2 separate regions of the Homo sapiens genome follow, and region 2 is linked to region 1. The links are contacts of gene promoters, found by promoter capture Hi-C in human tissues and cell types (Jung and others, 2019). All regions are on one chromosome and are shown on one strand. Each heading gives the region's core, a stretch centred on a gene start or on the middle of the fragment in contact. The rest is flanking DNA. Distances are from core to core; before and after follow the strand shown.

What was found. The method cuts DNA at HindIII sites, captures the fragments that hold promoters and counts their contacts. A contact is called where the count stands out against the background at its distance.
Region 2: a fragment that was not itself captured here is called in contact with the fragment with the promoter of ISLR in region 1 in 6 of the 25 tissues and cell types used here (H1 embryonic stem cells, liver, lymphoblastoid cells and 3 more).

Annotation. Positions count from the first base shown.
Region 1 is chr15:74,170,863-74,177,344 of GRCh38, forward strand. It overlaps ISLR (immunoglobulin superfamily containing leucine rich repeat), which reads left to right and starts at 2,848. Exons shown (of 2, transcript NM_005545.4): 1 at 2,848-3,157; 2 at 3,989-6,009. The coding sequence starts at 3,997. The coding sequence ends at 5,283. RefSeq lists enhancers at 1,593-2,581, 2,582-3,569, 3,570-4,558, 5,666-6,182. The HindIII fragment of the contact is 13,967 bases long and covers 2,185-6,482 here.
Region 2 is chr15:74,358,355-74,364,836 of GRCh38, forward strand. The region is part of intron 1 of CYP11A1 (cytochrome P450 family 11 subfamily A member 1); the gene reads right to left. It also overlaps the pseudogene PPIAP46. Among named protein-coding and RNA genes, the nearest start is that of CYP11A1, 6.0 kb to the right of the region's middle. The HindIII fragment of the contact is 5,215 bases long and covers 1-4,940 here.

The DNA of each region.
Region 1 (6,482 bases), core at 1,598-4,097:
ATTTTAGCATGGAAAGTCCCATGTCCCAGAAAACCCATCAGTTCCAGGTGAACCAGGACTGTTGGCTGGTCACCCTACAAGCTGCCAGGGACCCACAGGAGACAGGGCCAGGACTCACAGGAGGGGCTCCCAAGCTTGGCCTCCTAGTTCTGGGGACAGTCAGGGCCGCACATACTCACCAAGGGTCCCCATCTCAGGCCTGAGCCCAATTTAGAGGAGGCCAGGAGAGGGGAGATGGCAGCCCAGACAGCCCACAGGAAGCTCCCAGCCTGAAAAGATCAGGGAGCCCGACTTCTGACTTGTCTCCCTGCCTGCTGGCATGATCTCCTGTGAGGTGGGCTTTACAGAAAGAACTTGAGCTCTGACAGCAAGAGAAGAGCAGAGGGGCAACCCAGGAGGTCATACGCCCCATCCTCAGAGGCCTGCACAACTGCTCCTGGGCTCTGCTGAGGAGCAGGCCCACCTGTCCCACTGTGAGACACCTTGGAGAGTCAATAGTCCTTGGCTGAGATCCTGGCGGCCTTATTGTCCTTCCTGGTGGAAGCGGGTATGGCCACACCTTGCAGGCAGTGGCAGGACCTGAGCAGACCAGGAAGATACATCAGTGACCAGCACGCACAGTCTCATTTCTGCCCAGGTGGGCTGGTCCCTCCCACTTTTCCCGCCCTCAGCCCCCCACATCTGTTTTGAGGTGGGAGTCTGAGCTTAGTGTTTGGCTGTCATTAAGGTCTTAGGTAGGGAATGAGGGGACAGACTCCCTGCCCCCAGAAGGCTGCTGACATACTCACCCACCCAACAGAGCATGGGTCTCCTACACTGTATGAAATATTCTCTAAAATGTCTTGGGCATGCCCCTTCCCTAGCCTGGGCCCAAAGGCCCTATCTGTAAGTTGATGAGGAGATGAAGTGGGTGAGCTCTAAAATGCTTCCTTCTGATGACCACCCAACTTGTCCATCATGCCATGAAGGGGGCGCTTACAGAGTGTCTTCCCTGTGCTGGAGATCAATAGCACCTGGGAAGTTAAGGCCTCTGCCCTCAGTGGGCTTCCTCTCTAGTAAGGGGTCGCACATTAAGCACGCATGAATAAATAATCACAGCTTATAGGAGGAGCTATGAAGAAAAGTCAGGAATGTCTGAGAGAACAGTCACTGGGAACTGAGGGCTGAGGAGGTGCTTGTACTCTGACCCTGATGTGCTTGCAAGGAGGGAGGTGGGGTGGGAACTATGAGCTCCTCAGAGCACCCTGGAGGTAAAGCTGGTGGCACAGACTTTGTGCAGGTGAGGGTGTGTGTATGGGCTGTGCAGAACATAGTGAAGCCCCCTCCACCAGGAAGCCCTCCCTGACTGACACTGAGGTCACTGAGTCTCCCCTCTGGTTTACTGAACCCTGGATGTGTTTCTTGCAGCCTCTGGTTGGCCCACCAAATTCAGGACTTTCCTAGAAATTCTCCAGCACAGTCAGGATGATGCAAGAGAGGGCTTCCTCTGCAGGGGAAAGAGAGGGTGCTCTCCATTGGACCATAATAATATCCTCAGCATCAGACTCGGGTGTTTTGCAGGCAGCATGCTGGGGACTTCTGTGGCCTTGCTTGGTGACAGGGAATGGGGTGTGATGAGCTGGGGCAGGCTTCCTGGGGATGCTTTCAGCCAAAGATGAGCCCTGTCTGCCCTTGGCCCTGCTGAGAGGGTAAGTTGAGTCATGAGCAGAATTCAACCAGTTATCAGATGGAAGGCCAAGGAAGCTTGGGGAGGGCTACTGAGGGGATACGGTAGGCTTGTCTGTGGAGAGCAAAATTCTTCAGTCTACAAAGTTCTTTTCTGGGCTCCTTCATCTTTCGGTTTCTCTTCCAGCTCCCTCGTTTTGGGCCTCTTTTGTTTCCCCATTCCCCTCCCCTGGGCCTTCCCGTTTGGAAAAGGGGTCACATATCCTCACCCTGGAGGCGTCTGCCCCTTCCACACAGTTGGTGTTGGAACAGTGGAGCTCAGAGAGGCCGATGCTGACCGCGTAGATGTCCAGCACCAACAGTGGGATTTTGGGCCCTGTGGGGGACACAGAGAGAACTCTCCGGGAGTGCGGCCCCTTGGCCTCCCCTCTGGGTGCCCAGTGGGCAGTGGGCCTGGGTGGCTCAGAATCCCAGCCAGGAGCACTGAAGGTCAACAGGCTCCCGCCCTGAGTTTTCTGAGCCAGGCCTCCCTGTTTCCTCCCCAGCCAGTGGGGAGCGCAGTGAGGGGCGGGGCCTGGAGTCTTGGGAGCTCCCTGGACAACAACATGCATTTAGCGCAGCTCAGTCTCAGAGCCAGCAGGATATGTTTTCTTAAAAAAAAAAAAAATGCCTAACATCTTGGCTTTCACCGAAGGGTTGGTATCTGCTTTGTACACTTTGGCCTTCTTGGCTTTTCACTGAAACACACACACATGGATGCACACTCACTTCCACACACAAACCCACACCAAGACAGACACACACACACACTCACACACAAACTCATGTACATGGTTTCATACCCACATCCATGCAAACACACATACAAATCCAGAAATACGCACCCTCACACCCACAAACTTGTACACACACACACACGTATACACACCAACACACATACAACCCTGGCTTGGACAAAAGCTTCCCGTTTTTTCTTGTTTGAAGTGGAAATCTCCCACCTTCCATGAGATTCAATTTCTCGCCCTTCCCCCGCTAAAATCCTCCTGGCCCCATCATTTCTTGGGTCCTTTCCAGACAGTGCTGTGTCTTTAAGGAAGTTGAAGCTGCTAAAAGTGAGTGAGAGAGAGAGAAAAAACACAACCCAAAAAAATTTGGCATCTCTTCCCCCCTCAAGTTTCTGGTGTCACTTATGAAACACAGGTCCTTGTTGCTGCAGAGAAGCAGTTGTTTTGCTGGAAGGAGGGAGTGCGCGGGCTGCCCCGGGCTCCTCCCTGCCGCCTCCTCTCAGTGGATGGTTCCAGGCACCCTGTCTGGGGCAGGGAGGGCACAGGCCTGCACATCGAAGGTGGGGTGGGACCAGGCTGCCCCTCGCCCCAGCATCCAAGTCCTCCCTTGGGCGCCCGTGGCCCTGCAGACTCTCAGGGCTAAGGTCCTCTGTTGCTTTTTGGTTCCACCTTAGAAGAGGCTCCGCTTGACTAAGAGTAGCTTGAAGGTAAGCCAGTGGGGAGGAGGGCTCCAGGGCCAGCGGCGGGAGCGGGAGGCCTGTTGGACATAGGGGCTGGTTCCCTCTTGGTCCATCCCTGCTGGTCTGAGGTGCGTGGGACAATCCCTAGCTTGGAGCCGTCCAGGGGGCATCTGCTTCTTCCACAACCCACAACTGAGGCCCCAGAAATCCCAGCTGCGTTTGGGCTGAGCCTCTGGCCTCACCCAAGTCAGCTGAGAGGTCCTGGCGGGGGTTTATTTAGGCAGCTGCCTGGCTAAGTTTGAACAGAACAGGCCACGGGTGTGATTCCACAGAAAAGGCCTGGTGTCTGCTGCGGTCATGGCCGGAGGAGCGGGAGAGGGCGGGTGGAGTGGATGGGGGTGGTGTGCACTGCACAAGGGGCCTCGTCTGGGCCAAGGCAAAGCATACCTATGGGGGGCTCCGGTGGGAGGGACTGCGGCCAGGATGTGGGAGGGCAGGGGGAGGTTCTGCAAAGTGCTGGGGGAGGGGGGTGGCTGGAAAACAGATTTCAAGTCATAAAGTCAGCTAGGAACAGGCCGAGGCAGGGAGAACTCTCCACTCGGAGGAGGAGCTGGGGTCCTCTTCCATCCCGTCTTCATCCTGCCTGGCTGCGTGACCTCGGGCAAGTCTCCGCCCTTCTCTTGGCCTCAGTTTCTCCTTCCGTAGGATGGGGGCGGTGGGCTAGGTGGTGTTGGGATTTAGCTGGGTTATGTGGGACAGGGCCTCCTGATGGGAAAGAGCTCTGGCTGGGCTTGTGGGAGGAATGAGTCCCTTTGGCAGGTTCTCGGGATCCCCTGGGTGACATGCCTTTCTCTGCAGGAGGCACCATGCAGGAGCTGCATCTGCTCTGGTGGGCGCTTCTCCTGGGCCTGGCTCAGGCCTGCCCTGAGCCCTGCGACTGTGGGGAAAAGTATGGCTTCCAGATCGCCGACTGTGCCTACCGCGACCTAGAATCCGTGCCGCCTGGCTTCCCGGCCAATGTGACTACACTGAGCCTGTCAGCCAACCGGCTGCCAGGCTTGCCGGAGGGTGCCTTCAGGGAGGTGCCCCTGCTGCAGTCGCTGTGGCTGGCACACAATGAGATCCGCACGGTGGCCGCCGGAGCCCTGGCCTCTCTGAGCCATCTCAAGAGCCTGGACCTCAGCCACAATCTCATCTCTGACTTTGCCTGGAGCGACCTGCACAACCTCAGTGCCCTCCAATTGCTCAAGATGGACAGCAACGAGCTGACCTTCATCCCCCGCGACGCCTTCCGCAGCCTCCGTGCTCTGCGCTCGCTGCAACTCAACCACAACCGCTTGCACACATTGGCCGAGGGCACCTTCACCCCGCTCACCGCGCTGTCCCACCTGCAGATCAACGAGAACCCCTTCGACTGCACCTGCGGCATCGTGTGGCTCAAGACATGGGCCCTGACCACGGCCGTGTCCATCCCGGAGCAGGACAACATCGCCTGCACCTCACCCCATGTGCTCAAGGGTACGCCGCTGAGCCGCCTGCCGCCACTGCCATGCTCGGCGCCCTCAGTGCAGCTCAGCTACCAACCCAGCCAGGATGGTGCCGAGCTGCGGCCTGGTTTTGTGCTGGCACTGCACTGTGATGTGGACGGGCAGCCGGCCCCTCAGCTTCACTGGCACATCCAGATACCCAGTGGCATTGTGGAGATCACCAGCCCCAACGTGGGCACTGATGGGCGTGCCCTGCCTGGCACCCCTGTGGCCAGCTCCCAGCCGCGCTTCCAGGCCTTTGCCAATGGCAGCCTGCTTATCCCCGACTTTGGCAAGCTGGAGGAAGGCACCTACAGCTGCCTGGCCACCAATGAGCTGGGCAGTGCTGAGAGCTCAGTGGACGTGGCACTGGCCACGCCCGGTGAGGGTGGTGAGGACACACTGGGGCGCAGGTTCCATGGCAAAGCGGTTGAGGGAAAGGGCTGCTATACGGTTGACAACGAGGTGCAGCCATCAGGGCCGGAGGACAATGTGGTCATCATCTACCTCAGCCGTGCTGGGAACCCTGAGGCTGCAGTCGCAGAAGGGGTCCCTGGGCAGCTGCCCCCAGGCCTGCTCCTGCTGGGCCAAAGCCTCCTCCTCTTCTTCTTCCTCACCTCCTTCTAGCCCCACCCAGGGCTTCCCTAACTCCTCCCCTTGCCCCTACCAATGCCCCTTTAAGTGCTGCAGGGGTCTGGGGTTGGCAACTCCTGAGGCCTGCATGGGTGACTTCACATTTTCCTACCTCTCCTTCTAATCTCTTCTAGAGCACCTGCTATCCCCAACTTCTAGACCTGCTCCAAACTAGTGACTAGGATAGAATTTGATCCCCTAACTCACTGTCTGCGGTGCTCATTGCTGCTAACAGCATTGCCTGTGCTCTCCTCTCAGGGGCAGCATGCTAACGGGGCGACGTCCTAATCCAACTGGGAGAAGCCTCAGTGGTGGAATTCCAGGCACTGTGACTGTCAAGCTGGCAAGGGCCAGGATTGGGGGAATGGAGCTGGGGCTTAGCTGGGAGGTGGTCTGAAGCAGACAGGGAATGGGAGAGGAGGATGGGAAGTAGACAGTGGCTGGTATGGCTCTGAGGCTCCCTGGGGCCTGCTCAAGCTCCTCCTGCTCCTTGCTGTTTTCTGATGATTTGGGGGCTTGGGAGTCCCTTTGTCCTCATCTGAGACTGAAATGTGGGGATCCAGGATGGCCTTCCTTCCTCTTACCCTTCCTCCCTCAGCCTGCAACCTCTATCCTGGAACCTGTCCTCCCTTTCTCCCCAACTATGCATCTGTTGTCTGCTCCTCTGCAAAGGCCAGCCAGCTTGGGAGCAGCAGAGAAATAAACAGCATTTCTGATGCCCCTCCGTGTCTGCCTGGAATTTTGTCTGGATCTAGGAGCCTCTGCTGGGAGATAGGATCAGGAGCTGAAGAGTCAGGGCAGCCAGCCTGCCTGCCCACAGTGGCAGGGGCCTCTGAGACTCCAACAGACTGTGGAGGCACAGGAGTGCTGGCCCGATGCTGTGTCAGGGGCTGGGCCTTGCGGTGAGCTGAGCTGCAGATGTTCCCTTCCTCCAAACCATCCCACAGGACAGCTGGGGGCAGGAGCCTGGGGTGGCTGGCGACCCTGAGCAGCGCCTGATGTCAGCAGTGGCTTCAAGAGAGGCATTTTGGAAAGGCGCAAGGAAATGGAAGTGCCTGGGTGGTAGCTCCTCTTCCCTGTCCTGCTCCTGGAAGAGATGTTAGGAATGAAGAGGAAAGAGGGGACAGGTGGGGCAAGATGGAGGAGACAGATGAGGAGAAGGGGACACAGGACAGAGGAGGAGAAAGCCCCAG
Region 2 (6,482 bases), core at 1,083-3,582, 190 kb after region 1:
AGACCAAGGAAAATATCTCCTTCCAGCCTCACAGGCCCATTCTATTCTGTCGTCATTTCATAACCTCTTCCATGTAGGTTACAAGCCACTAGCCCACCTCTTAGAACCTCTCATTTCCTTTCCATCATGGAAATCTATCCACAAGGAAATCACTTCTCAGGGTTCCATCTGCTAGTCTACTACTCCTCAGGACCCTCCCTTCCCTACACATCAAGCTCAGGGATTTGCCTCTGCCCAGGACTGGCAAATTGACTTTACTCACATGCCCCAAGTCAGGAAACTAAAATACCTCTTGGTCTAGGTAGACACGTTCACCGGTTGGGTAGAGACCTTTCCCGTAGGGTCTGAAAAGGCCACCACGATCATTTCTTCCCTTCTGTCAGACATAATTCCTCGGTTTGGCCTTCCTACCTCTATACAGTCTGATAACAGACCAGCCTTTATTAGTCAAATCACTCAAGCAGTTTCTCAGGCTCTTGGTATTCAGTGAAACCTTCATACCCCTTACCGTCTTCAATCTTCAGGAAAGGTAAAACGGACTAATGGTCTTTTAAAAACACACCTCACCAAACTCAGCCTCCAACTTAAAAAAAGGACTCTGTCAAGAATAGAGCCCAAAAACTCACCAACCAAACAAGTAATTACACTGAATCCCCTTGGGCACTCTCTAATCGGATGTCCTGGGTCCTCCCAATTCTTAGTCCTTTAATACCTGTTTTTCTCCTTCTCTTATTCAGACCTTGTGTCTTCCATTTAGTTTTTCAGTTCATACAAAATTGCATCCAGGCCATCACCAATCATTCTACATGACAAATGCTCCTTTTAACAACCCCACAATATCACCCCTTACCACAAAATCTTCCTTTGGCTTAATCTCTCCCACTCTAGGTTCCCACACTGCCCTTAATCCTGCTTGAAGCAGCCCTGAGAAACATTGCCCATTATCTCTCCATACCACCCCCAAAATTTTTGCTGCCCCAACACTTCAACACTATTTTATGTTATTTTTCTTACTAATATAAGAAGACAGGAATATCAGGCCTCTGAGCCCAAGCTAAGCCATCATGTCCCCTGTGACCTGCACGTATGCACCCAGATGGCCTGAAGTAACTGAAGGATCACAAAAGAAGTGAAAACGGCCTGTTCCTGCCTTAACTGATGACATTACCTTGTGAAATTCCTTCTCCTGGCTCATCCTGGCTCAAAAGCTCCCCCACTGAGCACCTTGTGTCCCCTGCCCGTGCCTGCCAAAGAACAACCCCTTTGACTGTAATTTTCCATGACCTACCCAAATCCTATAAAACGGCCCCACCCCTATCTCCCTTCGCTGACTCTCTTTACGGACTTAGCCCACCTGCACCCAGGTGATTAAAAAGCTTTATTGCTCACACAAAGCCTGTTCAGTGGTCTCTTCACAGGGACACGCGTGAAAGAGAGAACCCTGAAATCTGGCATGCCGGTGAAAGGATAAGAATTTCTTATGAGTCAGTCTCTGGGCTCTTTCCCTCTATGCAAACTGGTTAAATATAAAGTAGAAGTCACGTATATCTCCTCTGTAAGATTTTAAATTAATTGGTTTAATAATAATAAAAGCTTAAGTCAAATATTTTGTCAGAAAAGTAGAAAGTGTAATGCCTTTTAGTTCATGTGACTTTAGCAATAGTTGGGAAATAAAGACAGTTTTCAAGATTATTGGAAAAATACAGTTGTCTTCAAAATGTAAACATGTGGTGTACATTATGTTCAAATACTAGGTTTGCTAAATCCTTTAACATCATAAGCTACTCCTTTGGCTTTTGAAAATTGTTTAACTTGCCTGCTTTCCAGCTAGGTAAGGCCTGGGGACACGTGGAGTTAGCCATGCCCCTAGCTGTGCTGGAAGTAGTCAAACCTTATCAGAAACTTTATCAGAACTTACCAGTTTTTTTTGTTTTTGTTTTTGTTTTGACAGAGTCTCACTCTGTCCCCCAGGCTGGAGTGCAGTGGCGCAATCTCGGCTCACCCACAATCTCCATCTCCCAGATTCAAGCAATTCTCTGCCCTAGCCTCCTGAGTAGCTGGAATTACAGACGCCCGCCACCACACCTGGCTAATTTTTTATTATTATTTTTAGTAGAGATGGGGTTTTACCATCTTGGCTAGGCTGGTCTTGAACTCCTGACCTCATGATCCACCCGCCTCGGCCTCCCAAAGTGCTGGGATTACAGGAGTGAGCCACCGCGCCTGGCCTAACTTACCAGGTTTTATGTTAAAATTCGCCATTATAGGCCAGTCACAGTGCCTCGCACCTGTAATCCCAGCATTTGGGGAGGCCGAGGCAGGTGGATCACCTAAGGTCAGGAGTTCAAGACCAGCCTGACCAACATGGTGAAACCCCCATCTCTAGTAAAAATACAAAATTAGCTGGGCAAGGTGGTGCCTGCCTGTAATCCCAGCTACTGGGGAGGCTGAGGCAGGAGAATCATTTGAACTCAGGAGGCAGAGGTTGAAGTGAGCCGAGATCATGCCATTGCACTCCAGCCTGGGCAACAAGAGTGAAACTCTGTCTCAAAAAAAACAAATTTGCCATTATAACATGCAATTAAGACTACTAGAAACAGTTTTACATGCAAGGTGTATAAGAACAGTAGAAAGTGTTGGGGGTTTTTTTGTGTGTGTGGAAGGTTACAAAAGGTTTTTGCTTCTTTAAAATTTCTGAGTCATCATTTTGGCAAAATAAATAGTTTACGGTAATCTGGAATTCCAAAATCAAACTTCAGTTTCAAAATTGTCTTTCCTAATGCCTGGCTTTCTAGATGAATCAGAGGGCCCCTGAAAACATCCAGAAAAGAGGTAAACAGGATTATTTGACATGTTTAGGTACATGGGATTGACAAAATGATGTTAAATCTTCTTTAGGTTATATTTTTGTGAATAATATATTCCAAAATTGTATGGGATTTCTCAAATTCTAATGTCTAAGTATATGTTACCAATCACAATTATAATTATGTTAAGTTATTGTAAACCACAAAAATGACCAAATTTTCTTGTATAAAGCTACTAACCCACGTAAAACAACAACAACAAAAAATTAATTACATATCAAGAAAAGACTTTCATGTTAAACCAGCTAATACTGAAATTGTTTAAAATAGTTTATAACCTGTCGCTTTGCAGATGCCGTCACTGCCACCAGGAGCCCTGTACTATCAGCCATGGTCAACCCCACCGTGTTCTTTGACATCGCAGTCACGGCGAGCCCTTGGGTCACGTCTCCTTTGAGCTGTTTGCAGACAAGATTCCAAAAACAGCAGAAAACTTTCATGCTCTGAGCACTGGAGAGGAAGGATTTGGTTATAAGGGTTCCTGCTTTCACATAATTATTCCAGGATTTATGTGTCAGGGTGGTGACTTCATATGCCATAATGGCACTGGTGGCAAGTCCATCTATGGGGAGAAATTTGATGATGAGAACTTCATCCTAAGGCATACACGTCCTGGCATCTTGTCCATGGCAAATGCTGGATCCAATACAAACGGTTCCCAGTTTTTCATCTGCACTGACAAGACTGAGTGGTGGATGGCAAGCATGTGGTCTTTGGCAAGGTGAAAGAAGGCATGAATATTGTGGAGGCCACGGAGCGCTTTGGGTCCAGGAATGGCAAGACCAGGAAGAAGATCACCATTGCTGACTGTGGACAACTCTAATAAGTTTGACTTGTGTTTTATCTTAACCACCAGACCATTCCTTCTGTAGCTCAGGACAGCACCCTCCACCCCATTTGCTCGCAGTATCCTAGAATCTTTGTGCTCTCGCTGCAGTTCCCTTCCATGCCTAGCTGGACTGCAGAGTTGAGTTAAAGTTTATGATTATGAAATAAAAACTAAATAACAACAAAAAATTGTTTATAACCAATGCTTGATCCCATATTCCTAGGAAAACAATTAAAGCTTCAGGTATATTTGGTCTTCTGGTCAGCCATTTAAACATTTTATAAAGGGATTTCATTCCATTGTTATTTTCCATGCATGTTTTCTGGTTGTAGAAAAGCTTTCCCATGCAAGAGGGCTGATGTTATAACAGTAGATTATTATGCTACAGTGTATTTTCACCAGATTAAAAAAAAAAGCTTTTTATGGTTTGAATCTGCTGGAAACATCAGAGAAAGACTGTCCTTGCCATCTACACTATAACAAAACTTCAGGACCTTGAACTTTGGGTTCATAATCTCACAACTGAGAAGGGCCCCTCCATGCTCTTGGAGCTGTGCACCCACTGGAATGCTTAAGGTAAAACTAACTAGGGAAATTTCTCCCAAGAAGAAGATGACATCATTGATGTGAACAGCTTTTCCCAAGTTCACAGATTAAGACTTCTACTATCATGAAACTCTTATTTTTGAATATTTTTTCTTGCTTATGCCTTCTACGAACAATAGAAGTGGAAAAGGGGTCTGTTATGTGCACTTATGGGGAACATTTTTATTTGTGAAGGAGTTTGCAGCCAGCCTTATACATGGATAAAGGCCCAATGTATGTAAGAAACTTTAATGGTAGATGTGTTAGCTCATAATCAATCAAAAACAAAAAATTGATTCACTCCACATAACCCACATCGTGGGTTAAAGAGAACATTGCCAGAAGTCCTTCACTCTTCTGAAAGGGCATCATTTGTTAGGTCCTTTTTCCATGGTTTAAAGTAAAAGAAGCAATGATTAGAAATGTATCCCTCATGATAGGTTCCATAGCAAATTCTACTCTAAAGGCTACAGACTCTAAATTCTCTTGTGAAAGTTATAATAGAATTGGCTAAACAGCGAAGTATCTGTGCAGCTGCTGGCACTTGTGGCCTATACAGAAATACATCAAATGAAGACTATAGAAATTCAGTGGTAGGAGACTGACAAAGAAATTGATTAGTCAAGTCTCTCTCTGTTGCCCAGGCTGAAGTGCAGTGGCGTGATCTTGGCTCACTGCAACCTCCGACTCCCAGGTTCAAGCAATCCTCCTGCCTTGGCCTCCCAAGTAGCTGGGATTACAGGTGCACGTGACCACACCCAGCCAATTTTTGTATTTTAGTAGAGATGGGGTTTCACCACGTTGGCCAGGCTCATCTTGAACTCCTGACCTCAAGTGAGCCACCTCACCCAGCCGTGAGTAAACTGTATCTAGCTCATTCTTAGATCCATTTGATTTTAGGAGGTTTGGTTTATGGGGACCTTGGGTAAGGAGTATACTCCCAAATTCTTGGTATTATCCTCCTAATAGCCATAATAATGGTCTCCCTGACGAGCTGTATGCTCTCAAAGGTTTTAAATGCTTGCATGAGCCATCTCTAGAATGTCATATGGTCTCTCTTCAACTGGAATAACAGGAGCTCAAAGAAATATGCAACCATGAGGACACCATAACCTATAAATGACATGCTGAGACCAGAAACCCAAAATGATGGTAACTGAGAGTGGCACTGAGGCCCTAGGTTTTGGTCACACTCTCACCTAAGTGAAAACCTGATCAAAAAGGGAATTTTTTTCAACAAAATTCTGGGAGGCCGTTGTTTTGGACTGATCTCATGCACTAGGCCCCAACAAACCAAACAAAACCAAAATGGGGCCACTCATGCCAAGACTTTAAGGAAACACATAGATTCTAGAAAAGACTAGGTTTTGTTTTTTCTTCTGCAAATCACTACAACAAACATTTCTGACAGTATAGGTATCCACCCCCTAAAGTTTCCATTAAATCTTTTAACCAAATTCATTTCCTCTCACCTAGAGACCATCAAGCTTCAGATGATCATGTAACAAAGGTTCCAGCCAGTTCCAAGTGAAGACACCACCCCTGGACATCAAGAAGCTACCCTTCCTCCACTAGATAGAGCAGGGTGAGAGTTCCATGATCCCCAATAGGTAGGGACTATGCCCCAAGCCAGCATGAAGCAGTTACAGAAAAAAGACCATCGGTCCCTCTGCCTCCCATAAAGATTTATGGGGATCACATCTCTTGAAGGGGCAGATGAGGCAGGAAAATAGGGTCTGAAGTGTGAAGATCGATTCACACTTCAGCTATAACAGGAAATATCCTCTCCATAGGGTGTATGACTATGTAACTTGAATACTTCATCCTCTCCATTTACATAAGGTGTATCTGAAGTAACCAATGGAATCCTCTGGGGGTAAATGCCCCACAATTCTGTAACGGGACCTTTGAGCCCCTACGCTCCGCCTGCTCCCACACTGTGGTGTGTATGTTCATTTTCAATAAATCCCTTCATTCCTTCCTTACTTTGTCTGTGCATTTTGTCCAATTCTTTGTTCAAGACGCCAAGAACCTGGACACCCTCCACCGGTAACAAAGGGGCTTAATAAAATAAGGAGTTGCTACTGAGGGTCTAGGAAGTGGTGAAAAGGGAAGAGAGGAGGAAGCAAGGATAACTAGAGATCTATGTGAAGTGAGCACGGGACAGAAGCACTAATAGGCCTAGGAGAGAGGGGGAGGAA